Regions from separate parts of the Homo sapiens genome. Here all the other regions are linked to region 2. Evidence: promoter capture Hi-C in 16 types of primary human blood cells and fetal thymus (Javierre and others, 2016). All regions are on one chromosome and are shown on one strand. The core of a region is centred on a gene start or on the middle of the fragment in contact, and the rest is flanking DNA. Distances in the headings are between cores, read along the strand shown. Region 1 holds the start of KRT39 (keratin 39). Region 2 has its middle 9.5 kb from the start of KRT17. Region 3 holds the start of KRTAP2-1 (keratin associated protein 2-1). Region 4 holds the start of KRTAP1-4 (keratin associated protein 1-4).

Evidence for each region. The method cuts DNA at HindIII sites, captures the fragments that hold promoters and counts their contacts. A CHiCAGO score of 5 or more calls a contact.
Region 1: the fragment with the promoter of KRT39 here is called in contact with a fragment that was not itself captured in region 2 in 1 of 17 cell types (non-activated CD4 T cells); the score reaches 7.3 in non-activated CD4 T cells.
Region 3: the fragment with the promoter of KRTAP2-1 here is called in contact with a fragment that was not itself captured in region 2 in 5 of 17 cell types (total CD4 T cells, activated CD4 T cells, naive CD8 T cells and 2 more); the score reaches 9.0 in total CD4 T cells.
Region 4: the fragment with the promoter of KRTAP1-4 here is called in contact with a fragment that was not itself captured in region 2 in 5 of 17 cell types (total B cells, non-activated CD4 T cells, total CD4 T cells and 2 more); the score reaches 6.1 in total B cells.

What each region holds. Positions count from the first base shown.
Region 1 is chr17:40,965,684-40,968,887 of GRCh38, forward strand. It overlaps KRT39 (keratin 39), which reads right to left and starts at 1,265. Exons shown (of 7, transcript NM_213656.4): 1 at 706-1,265. The coding sequence starts at 1,173. All of the region lies in intron 1 of LOC107985072 (a long non-coding RNA gene), which reads left to right. The HindIII fragment of the contact is 5,044 bases long and covers 1-3,204 here.
Region 2 is chr17:41,632,490-41,635,617 of GRCh38, forward strand. It overlaps the pseudogene KRT42P. Among named protein-coding and RNA genes, the nearest start is that of KRT17, 9.5 kb to the left of the region's middle. The HindIII fragment of the contact is 4,882 bases long and covers 1-3,128 here.
Region 3 is chr17:41,045,738-41,048,659 of GRCh38, forward strand. It overlaps KRTAP2-1 (keratin associated protein 2-1), which reads right to left and starts at 1,579. Exons shown (of 1, transcript NM_001123387.1): 1 at 804-1,579. The coding sequence starts at 1,530. The coding sequence ends at 1,144. The HindIII fragment of the contact is 11,978 bases long and covers 1-2,922 here.
Region 4 is chr17:41,028,722-41,031,552 of GRCh38, forward strand. KRTAP1-4 (keratin associated protein 1-4) reads right to left here and starts at 1,474. Exons shown (of 1, transcript NM_001257305.2): 1 at 630-1,474. The coding sequence starts at 1,357. The coding sequence ends at 992. RefSeq lists an enhancer at 564-1,113. The HindIII fragment of the contact is 2,506 bases long and covers 125-2,630 here.

The DNA of each region.
Region 1 (3,204 bases), core at 15-2,514, 670 kb before region 2:
AGGTGGTGATGGTTGAAAAATGGATAAAAACTAAATTGCTTAGAAACTCATTAAAGCAAAATTTATTTTCTCTGATCTCTGTTTCCCTATTTTTATTTAAAAAATGGCAACAACTTGCTGTTAACATCTTTTGGTCCTGAGTCATCTAGTTATAATGGTAGAGTGTATTTCTGGAGAAAGGAAACACCATGAGACTCTTCTTTTTGTTTCTGATTTTTAAAGACATAGTCTCACTTTTGTCTGGGCTGGAGTGCAGTGGCAGGATCTTGGCTCATGGCAGCCTCAACCTCTTGGGCTCAAGTGATCCTCCCACCTCAGCCTCCCAAGTAGCTGGGACCACAGGCATGTGCCACCACGCCCATCTAATTTTTTTTTGTGTGTGTATGTGTGTGTGTGTGTGTGTGTGTGTAAGGATGGAATTTCATCATGTTGCCCAGGATGGTCTAGAACTCCTGGGCTCAAGTGATCTGTCTGCCTCAGCCTCCCAAAGTGTTAGGATTACAGGTGTGCATCACTGCGCCTGACCAGAAATACTATCAGACTCTGAATGCTGCCTCAAGATGACAATTTCACTCAAGAAATTTTTCTATTCTTCAAAAAAATTTTCAGCATCAACTGAACAAAAAATATTAAAGTTTAGCAAATAACTGTTGCTTGGAAACCATTAATTCACAACACGATTAAACAGGTTCTTAGGAATCTTACCTTCTGCTGGAGCTCCTCAATGGTAGTGTAGTAAGACAGGTAATCAGGACATAGAACAGGGAGCTCTTTGTTACTTTCTTCCTGGATTTTAGATTCCAGTTCAGCATTCTCTCGTTCTAGCATTCGCACCTTTTGCAGGTAGTTAGCAAGGCGCTCGTTCAAGATTTGCATGGTCTCCTTCTCATTACTGTTGATGCCTTCACCATACCAGCTGCAGTCATCCAGAGAAAAACGGGCATTGAAGTTGTTCATTAGGTAGATGGGCTTGCGACAAAAGCGAGGAGTGGGTTGGCAGCCCTGGTCCCAGGGAATTCTGAGAACGTGGCCAGCTGGTTGACAGTTGTTGACTGTAAGGCCACCAGGATGGCAGCCGTTGTTAGAAGAGATGGTACTAACATTTGTAATCCTAGAGCAGTTTTGACATGGGGTTGAAGGAGAATTGGTTGTTGTACAGCCCTTGGTGTCCATAGTATGTGTCTGGCTTTAGTTTGTTCCAGGTCTGTGGTCACCAGGATGAAAAGCTCAAGCCACCTCCACAGAGTCTGAATTCCAAGGCTCTTGGTGTTTTCCTCTTTGAAGTGCTTATATAGCCTCTCTTCTACGTGGTGTCACACAGGTGGGATGTTTTCCTTTCTCAGGTTTATATCAAATCCTGTAGGAACATCTTATTAGTCTGCTTTTTACTTGCTTAAGAAGAGTTATTTGTCTCATAAACATGTGCATTTAGGCTGTTAGTAAGTTATTACCCATCATAACTACTACTTGTCTATTGGACCCAGAGCTTCAAATTATGTCTTCAAAAGGAACTGTCCTAACAGCATCCATTATTAAGCAGGTGTGAGTATACTAAGTTCATTACATTCTTGTTGACCTCTCCACTTGGCACTGAGCTTAACCAGGAATGAGTTCATCCTTCTTTTCCTTTCTTCTCTAGAAAAGGGAAACTATTAATGTTTAATAATTATTGGTAAACTTAGAAATCAGAAGTCAATATTTTAGTTTGTTCTGCCCAAATGGTTTCCCCATTTTCAGTGTCAGGACAATGTGAGTATGAATTAAAATGTTAGTCTTTTAAAAGTCTTGTTTTAAAGATAATTGCTAGATTTATGTTTTAGCTTTCCATAAAATGTAATAACATAAAATAAAATATAAATAAAATATGAAATAAAATAAAAGCCATGGGGAAAAGGTAGGGTTTGATTGCTAATAAGAAATTTCTTGGAAAAGAGACTAGCTCTCTTTTGGTTTTCCAAAGTCCACATTTTATAACATTTTTAGTGCTTGGTGTTTGCTTGTGGTATTACATTAGATAAAAATGTATCACAGTGTTGGTTTATACTGGATGTTTAAATAGGATTCATTGAAAGGGGTGTGTTTTCTTTCTGAGGAATACTTACTCAGCATTTTCTTCAGAAAGTTACTTGCTGCTAATCCTTTATGGAGGCTCTAGGGGAACATCATTTTCTTGCCTTTTCCAGCTTCTACAGGCTGTCCACATCCTCAGCTAGTGGCCCCTTTTCATCCTTTTTTTTTTTTCTTGAATTATGAGATTTTTTGTACTTTGAGTTCTGGGATACATGTGCAGAACGTGCAGGTTTGCTACATAGGTATACAAGTGCCATGGTGGTTTGCTGTACCCATCAACCTGTCATCTACATTAGGTATTTCTCCTAATGCTATCCCACCCCTAGCCCCTCACCCCCTCACAGTCCCCGGTGTGATGTTCCCCTCCCTGTGTCCATGTGTGCTCATTGTTCAACTCCCACTTATGAGTGAGAACATGCAGTGTTTGGTTTTCTGTTCCTGTGTGAGTTTGCTGAGAATGATGGTTTCCAGCTTTATTCATGTCCCTGCAAAGGACATGAACTAATCCTTTATTATGGCTGTATAGTATTCCATGGTGTATATGTGCCACATTTTCTTTATCCAGTCCATCATTGATGGGCATTTGGGTTGGTTCCATGTCTTTGCTATTGTGAATAGTGCTGCAATAAACATACATGTGCATGTGTCTTTATAGTAGAATGATTTATAATCCTTTGGGTATGTATCAAGTAATAGGATTGCTGGGTCAAACTGTATTTATGGTTCTTGATCCTTAAGAAATTGCCACACTGTCTTCTGCATTGGTTGAACTAATTTACACTCCCACCAACTGTGTAAAAGTGTTCCAATTTCTCTCCATCCTCTCCAGCATCTGTTGTTTCCTGACTTTTTAATGATTGTCATTCTAACTGGTGTGAGATGGTATCTCATTGTGGTTTGATTTGCATTTCTCTAGTGACCAGTGATGATGAGCTTTTTTCATATGTTTGTTGGCCACATAAATGTCTTCTTTTGAGAAGTGTCTTTCTATATCCTTAGCCCATTTTTTTGATGGGGTTGTTTGTTTTTTCTTGTAAATTTGTTTAAGTTCCTTGTAGATTCTGTATATTAGCCCTTTGTCAGATGGACAGATTGCAAAAATTTTCTCCCATTCTGTAGGAGGCTGAGGCAGAA
Region 2 (3,128 bases), core at 230-2,729:
AAGACAAAGTGGCCATGTTTACAGAATGCCAAAGCCATGTTCTTAGAGGTCATGAGAGAGAGTGTGTGTGTATGTGTGTGTGTGTGTGGTGTGTGATGTGTGTGTGGTGTGTGGTGTGTGATGTGTGTGGTGTTTATGTGTATGTAGTATGTGTGTATGTGGTGTGTGTGGTGTGTGGTATGCATGTGGTGTGGTGTATATGTGTGTGTGGTGTGTATGTGTGTGTGAGATCTGTGTGTATTGTGTGTGTGGTGTGTATATGCGTGTGGTGTGTGTGGTGTGTGGTACATGGGTGGTTGTGGGTATATATGTGTATGGTGTGTGTGTAGTGTGTATGTGTGTGGTGCGTGTGGAATATGTGTGGCATGTGTGGTGTGGGGTGTGTGTGTGGTGTCTGTGTGTATGTGTATGTGTGTGTGGTGTGTGTGGTGAGTGTGTGTGTGATGTATCTATGGTGTGTATGGTGAGTATGTGTGTGGTGTGTGTGGTGTTTGTGTATGTGTGTGATGTGTTTGGAGTGTGTGTGTGGTGTTTGCGTGTGTCTGTGATGTATATGTGGTGTGTGCGTGATGTGTGTGTGGCGTGTATGTGTGTATGTGTATGGTCTGTGTGGTGTTTGTGTGTGTATATGTGTGTGATGTGTGTGTGCTGTGTGTCTCTGATGTGTGTGGTGTGTGTGTGGTGTGTGTGCGTGTACGTGCGCGTGTATGTGTGGTGTGTGTGGTGTGTATGTGTGTGATGTTTGTGTAGTGTGTGATGTGTATGAGTGTGTGTGTGGTGTGTGGTATGTTTGGGTGGGTGTGTATATGTGTTGGAGAGGGTGTGGGGGGTTTGGGGGGGTGTGTGACTAATATGTGTGGAGGGGGTGTTGGGGGTGTGGTGGGTATATGTGTAGGTGTGTGGTATGTGTGTGTGTATGTAGTATGTGTGTATGTGGATGTGCCTGTGAGCTATGTGTGAATGTGTATATAGGAGTCTTTTAGTGTGTGTGTATCGATCGGTGGGCATGCGCCTGTGTGTGAATCTGGGAGTGTGAGGTGTGAGTGGGGCGCGTGGCGTTTGGGGTAGTGTGTGATGTGTATGGTGTGTGGTGTTTGTGTGTGTGTACGTGTGTGCTGTGTGTGGTGTGTGTGTGGTGTTTCTGTGTGTGTATGTGTGTGATGTGTGTGGGGTGTGTGTGGTGTTTGTGTGTGTACGTGTGTGGTGTGTGTGTGGTGTTTGTGTGTATGTGTGTGATGGTGTGTGTGGTGTGTGTGGTGTTTGTGTGTGTGTATGTGTGTGTGTGGTTGTGTGTGGTGTTTGTGTGTATGTGTGTGCTGTGTGTGTGGTCAGTAAGGTTCTGCATGGTCTTTTCACCGCCCCCGCAGCAGGGCATCCGCCACGTCAACGCTGGAGCCAAAGCCCCCACCCAGGTTACAGGTGTAGCCACCGCTGTAGCCTCCCCCAAGTCCCACCAAGAAGCAGGAGGAGGTGACCGACATGTTGCCACAGCTGCTGACTCCCAGGAGGCTGGCGAAAGGCACCCCCAACACTGACAGATGACATCCAGGAGAAACCCCCGCCAGGTGTCCACAGGCCCTTGACAGAGCCAGAGGTGGAGAACTGGCAGATGCTGGTAGTGGTGACAACCAGGGTGTCCATGGGTCGGGTGAAGAGTCTGGTCTGGATGGAGACCCTGGGTAGCCCGTTACAGCCGGGCTGAAGTGGGGCTGGGACCCTGGCCCTTGAAGTTCAGGCCAAAACCCCAGGAGTGTATTTTGCCTCCTCCCACCCACCCAGGGCCTGGGGCTCAGGCTGGACATATTGAGAGCCTCCCCAAGGACCCCTCCATAGCAAGAGCCCAGCCTGAGCACCAGGGCCTCAGCGGTCTGTTCAGACACAAAGGTGGTGGCCAGGCACGGTGGCTCACGCCTGTAATCCCAGCACTTTGAGAGGCAGAGGCAGGTGAACCACCTGAGGTCAGGAGTTTGAGACCAGACTGGCCAACATAGCAAAACCCCATCTCTACTAAAAATACAAAAATTAGCTGGGCGTGGTGTCACGAACCTGTAATCCCAGCTACTCAGGAGGCTGAGGCAGGAGAATAGCTTGAACCTGGGAGGTGGAGGTTGCAGTGAGCCGAGATCACACCATTGCACTCCAGCCTGGGCAACAAGAGTAAAAATCTGTCTCAAAAAAGAAAGAAAGAAACAAAGGTGGTGCTGGTCTGTAGCCCTGGGGTAGGGTGACCCTCCATCCTCAGCCACAGTTAGGAGGCTGAGCTTATTCTTGTGGGGAGCCCGGAGAACCCAGCCCTGGGAGCCAGCACGGGCACAGGACAAGGCTGCACAGGCCAGGAGCCGGAGGCTGGCCTGGCCCCTCACCCAGCATTCCAGGGCCCTGGGGTAAGGGTGGAGAGATCGGGGCCTGACATCATTGCCCAGGTACAACGTGGCCCTGGTGGAGACTCCCAGTCAGAGGAGGCAGAATTAGCCTCTGACCTGTGGGAGCCCCACTCTCTTGGGATTCTTCCAAGTCCGCGGGGAGATACAGCCCACAGGTTCAAGGATCCCTGTGTCTGAGGGAAATAGACGTGGCCGCTGAACTGAGGGAGCTTTGGATCCAAGCCTTTCAGGAAGTCAGTTCTAGAGCCTCCGTTCCCTCGTTTGTAAAAGGGGGACCAAGTCTTGTCTCCCAAAGTCTTTGAGGGAATCTGGAGAGATAATGACGTCAGTAAGGCTCTAACAAAACAGGAAGCAGAGGTGGGGCTGGGAGCAGGGGTCTGAGGCCAAAGGGTTAGGGCAGCCTCCCTCCTCACCCGAACCTGAGCAATGTCAGTCCAGAGCAGTCCCGGAGGAGGGGAGGGCAGCCCAGGAAGGCCACAGAGGAGCAGGATCTGTGCAGGAGCCAGCGTCATGCCCCGAGGAACGGCCCCTGCAAAAGAGCAGCATGATCCGCAGGCTGGTGGCTGGCACCGCTCCACCCAACAAGGAGATTAGTATCCTAATCTCCGCGGCACTAATGATTTAGGTGCTGCCAGGACACCGGCGTCTGCACCAGGCCTGTCTGAATGTGGAGCTTCCCAGGGCAGCCAGGGCCCGCGGAACAGGAGAGGGGAGAGAAGTGCATGGGTGGCCTGGGCTCTCTGC
Region 3 (2,922 bases), core at 329-2,828, 590 kb before region 2:
TAGTATAGCCATTATGGAAAACAGTATGGAGGGTTCCCCAAAAATTAAAAATAGGACGATCATGTGATCCAGGAATCCCACTACTGAGTATATACGCAAAGGAAATGAAATCAGTATGTTGAGGAGATTTCTGCACTTCCATGTTTATTGCAGCACGATTCACAACAGCCAACATATGAAAACAATCTAAGTGTTCATCAATGGATGAATGGATAAAGAAAATGTGACACACACTCACACCCAAACACACAATGAAATACTATCAGCCATGAAAAAGAATGAAATACTGTCATGTGCAGCAACATGGATGAACCTGGGGGACATTATGTTAAGTGAAATTAACCAGGCACAGAAAGACAAATAGCACATTCACTCACTCCTATGTGAAATCTAAAGAAGTTGATCTCATAGAAGTAGAGAGTAGAATAGTGACTACCAGAGGCTGGGGAGGGTGAGAGGAGGGGAGGATAGGCAGAGATTGGTCTACAGGTACAAAGTTACAGGTAGATAGGAGGGATAAGTTTTGGTATTCTAATGTACAGTAGGGTGACTGTGGTTAGTAATATTTTATCATATATTTCAAAATAGCGATCAGAGAATATTTTAAATGATCTTACCATGAAGAAATGATAAATGTATGAGGTGACGAATATGCTAAACACCCTGACTTGATTATTACACAACGTATACATGTATGGAAACATTACATTGCACCCCATAAATATGTACAATTATGTGTCAGTTTTTTTAATTAAAAAATTAATTTAATACAAAATATTAGAATGAGTAAATAAAACCAAATCTTTTTGCAAGGCCAAAGAACAGATATTTATTAGAAAATAAACATGCCACGAAATCTTAAGAAGAAGGAAATTGCTTCTTTTACAGACTTCAGAATGGCCCAGGTCTTAATAGATGAGCCCAGTGCTCGGTTCCCTGCTTGGTTGATGTGGGGTTTTGTGGGCTCAGGGCAGGAGGTTTGTTAAAGTAGAGAAATGGGAGTGTGACTTTTTCAGAAGGTGAGTTACGCGTTCCGGGCAGTCAGTGCACTGCTCAGCAGGAGGAGGTCCTGCAGGTGGTGCTGCAAGGGGTCGGCTGGCCGCAGGGGGACTGCACAGACACAGGCTGGCAGCAGGTGGTGGCTCAGCAGGAGGAGGTCCTGCAGGTGGTGCTGCAAGGGGTCGGCTGGCCGCAGGGGGGCCGGCAGCAGGGGGACTGCACAGACACAGGCTGGCAGCAGGTGGTGGCCCAGCAGCAGGGCCTGCACACCACAGCCGTGCACGACGAGGGGCAGCAGGTGATGGGGCGGCAGCAGCCTTCCTGCAGGGAGCAGGGGTCGCAGCACACCGGGCGGCGGCAGGGCTCGCAGATGGGGCGCGTGCAGCGGGGCACGCAGGTCACGGGGCGGCACACGGTGGTCTGGCAGGTCACGGGGCGGCAGCAGCAGGGGTCGCGGCAGCAGCAGGGCTGGCAGCAGCCTCCCCCGTAGCTCAGGGAGGAGAAGGTGGAGCCGCAGCAGGAGCCGGTCATGGTGGTGTCTGAGGCTGGTGTGGGTTGGGCTGTGGAGAGGAGCTGGATGTTCTCAGGTGTGAATGTCCTCCTCCCCCTCTGGGCCCTTTATATACCCTGGCCGGGTGCAGGTGACCCTTTTCGTTTACCTTTTGGCCAATTAAGTAGAATTTTGTTTTGACTAATGGTTGCTTGTGACACACTCATTATCTCACTAAAGAGCTCTTGTTTTATCTCTAAGTATGGATGTACTCACATTGGGTGAAAATCTAAGAACTCATCGTCATTTGAGGTGATAGTAGCTCTTGATGCTTATTTTGAGTAGATAACACTGGATCAAATCTGGACAAAACGGTCTAAAAAAACTTCAGTTTTTAAAAGAAATTAAAAACATAGAGAAGTACATAGAACATTGAGTAGAGCCTATCCTGACCCCAATAGGGGACTCAAGTCCTTGGAAGCACCTACATGTGAAACGTGAATCACACGAGTGTTAGACAAGCCCTCCCACGTAGTCTGCTTGGGAATACGTTTGATTATCACTTGATATAGTGGGATACATAGGCCTTGAATAGGATAGCAGCTCATAGAGTTGTACAGGACAGACAAAAATTTTTGCAAACCACTAAGTGTTGGAATAAAACCTCCAAGACTGCCTTGCATGTTTTCTTTTCTCTAGTTCAGGTTCTGTGCAACTCTGGTCTTTCTGTCATAAGATGCTGATTTTTATCTCTGAAACATGTCATTTTTTAGCGTTGCCTTTCTTGTGCATGTAATGAAGAATTCTGTAATGGGAAATTTTTCTGAATATACCTTGTTGGCCGGGCGCAGTGGCTCATGCCTGTAATCCCAACACCTGGGGAGGCCAAGGCAGGTGGATCACCTGAGCTCAGGAGTTCAAGACCACCCTGGGCAACATGGTGAAACCTCAACTCTAATAAAATACAAAAAATTAGCTGGGTGTGGTGGCAGTGCCTGTAGTCCCAGCTGTGCCGGAGGCTGGGGAACGAGAATCACTTGAGCCCCAAAGGCGGAGGTTGCAGTGAGCCGAGATCATGCCATTGCACTCCAGCTTGGGCTACAGAGTGAGACTCCATCTCAAAAAAGAAATATGCATATATACTTTGACATAGGTGCTCTGATTAGCAAGTGACAAGAAAGGGGTTTTCAACCAACATTGCACACATATCCAGAACACTGTTCAGGGGTAGACGCATTGGGAGGCTGCCCAGTGTTCTGCTGTGGCACTGCTAAAAGCGTGATGGATGCGCTTCTTCAGGAAGTGTTGCCAGGGGCAGTTCAGGAACTACATGGGGGAAACAGTCCCATTACTTTCCAGCTTTACTCCTCCTGTTAGTCACCAGACAGGGTTTTGAATCACTTCGGGATCATTTTCTTTATTTGAAAGAATGT
Region 4 (2,831 bases), core at 224-2,723, 600 kb before region 2:
TCTGACAAATGGCAATGGTAGAACTCAGCGGGTGCTCTCTATAGCTGTTTCTTCTACTATCATTTAGACCAAAGATACACCTTATGCATACGTACATCAAATGAAGGTGAATAGTGGGAGTTGAAGCTTAGAGAGCAATTCAAGGATCAGTGGGAAGAATGTGAAAGGCTAAGGTGTAGAAATTAAACCTAAATTCTCTTGGAAAATAGGTAGTATCTAGTAGCTATTTTTAAATCTATTTAGAAGGTAATGCAATTTCTTTAGATTTTGGGGCATAAATGAAGGAGAACATTTAGTATATTAAATGGAAGGAGACAAAAGATGGTAGAATTACATTTAGATAGAAATCAATAGCTTTGATCAACCTTAACATTTTAGCTAAAGGTCAACCTTTATTGGTCTAGACCTAATCATAATAGATTAGAGCATGTAAATATTTGAACTATAAAAATTCTTTAATTCATGGAGCATTTTTAAGCTGATGGATTCAAGCATAATTTACTTTGTATTTAATCTTTCTGGTTTAGACTTTATGGTTATGCCTTGGTATTATTATCAAATTGCAAATCCACTCTTGAATACCAGCTACAAGAAGACATGTTTAAAGGTAGAAGGAGGACATAACTCAGTTTGCTTTGCACATTAAAACATTTTATTTGGATTAATCAGAGATATTCAAGGAAAAACCAGGTCTGAAGATGCATGAGCATCAAGAGAGAGTTGGGGGAGCAGAGATGTCACTGAAATGATGAACTATTCCATCCTGGTCCTCTGCTCAAGCAACGCAAGCTATCCAGAACACTGATTGATACATCTTTCAGTAAGTGAATTCGGCACATCCACAGTGTCCTAACTAGGAGTTTCATTATCTCTGAGCAGCTTAACAACATCATGGTACTTAGCATCCAAGTAAAATCGAACAGTTCTTCAGAAATCAGCACAATTTTGCTGTGCTTCCCCTTTCATTCTTAAGCGATCAGCAACCTGGCTTTTAGCAGGTGGGCTCACAGCAGTGGCAGCAGCAGGCTGGGCGGCAGCAGGACTGTCCACAGTAGGACGGGCGGCAGCAGGAGGCCTCGGCGTGGTGCAGCTGGCAGCAGGATGGGGGTGTGCAGCTTACCAGGTAGCAGGGGGGCAGGCAGGTGCCCTCCACGTGGCAATCTGGGTGGCACCACCTGATACGGGTGCTCACAGATCCACCGCTGCCCTCCTGGCCATAGCCAATGCCACCACCAATGCCACAGCCGGTTCCGCAGGAGCTGGTCTGGCAGCAGCTTGGCTGGCAGCAGCTAGTTTCACAGCAGCTTGGCTGGCAGCAGCTGGAGCCACAGGTCCCACTGGTGGAACAGCTGGCCATGGTGTCAGGAGTTGGGTTGAGAGCTGTGTTAAGAGAGGTTTCTGAGTTTGGGCTGTACCTTCTATATCTGTCCTTTGATATGTTCCCTAGAGCTGCATATTTACCCAACACCTTTTCTTGATGTCAATTTCAGTGTGAGTCTCTGGCTAATACCTGAGGTGTTTATAAAGTTATAAATAGCATTTCAATAGCCTTTTTCCATTGTACAATTAAGTCTCATTATGTTTCTTCTTTGCCCTCTGGGCGAAGTGAAGGCTCATCATGGAAGCCAAGCACCGAAGTGCCTCTTTATGCAAGTCACATGACAGACTAGCCTTGAGCCAAGTGTCGCCCTGGCACGTTTTGTCATAGTTGTCCTTTGATAACCTTTAGGCAGAATTTATCTTAACTGATCATTTTTCCTTAAATGGTCACTTAACTATGATCATGATTTTATAAACAATTTGTCCAGACTTGGAAAGACTAACATTAGTGTCATCAAAACATGAACTACAACCTGATGTATCAACTTTCAAACCAAGTATGCCTTTCTATGATCAATTTGTGCAAGTTATAGGATCCTCAGAGCTCTATCTAATATTCTTGCCTTCAGTAATAGTGAATGTACAAATTGCTAACTAAAATCTTTAATGACTTTTGCTTGTAGATTGTTTTCTGACTCTATTAAATTAAACATATGTGCTAGTAATGAGTACACATTGTAACAAGTCAAAGAGTACAGAGGTATATAAAGAAAAATTAGTGTCTTTTCCCTTCCTGGAAGATGCACACATCTCTTCCAAAACTAATGCTCTAGAGGTAATCAATATTAAGAATTTGGTGCACATTCTTTGACACCTTTATCCTTGCTTCTGCAAATATAAACCAGCATATATACATATATATCTTCTATTTCAGAAAAGTTTGGGTCTCCTACACATGTTTATAGTTACAAATTTTTAATTGTGGTAAAATATACATACCATAAAATTTATGAACCATTTACATTAACCATCTTAACCATTTGTAAATAGTCTTGTCACCCTTGTTGAAAATCATTTGACCACATTCACATTCAGAAGAAATGAAATTAGACCATTGTCTCACATTATATACAAAAACCAACTTAGAATGGATTAAAAGACTGAAATGTAAGAAAGACTCAAAATGATAAAACTATAAGAAGAAAACAGAGGAAACTCCATGACTTTTGCCTGGCCAATATTGTGATATTGTGAACATGAATCCAAAAGCATCAGCAAAAATAGACAAGTGGGATTACATCAAACTAAAAAGCTTCTGCACAGCCAATAAAACACTAAACTGAGTGAAGACGCAAACCGCTGAATGGGAGAAAATATTTATAAACCACATATCTGATAAAGGGTTAATATCCAAAGTATAGAGGAAACTCAAACAACTCAATACCTGTAGTAAGAAAACAAATAACGTAATTGAAAAATGGGCAAAAAATCTAAATAGACATTTCTCAAAA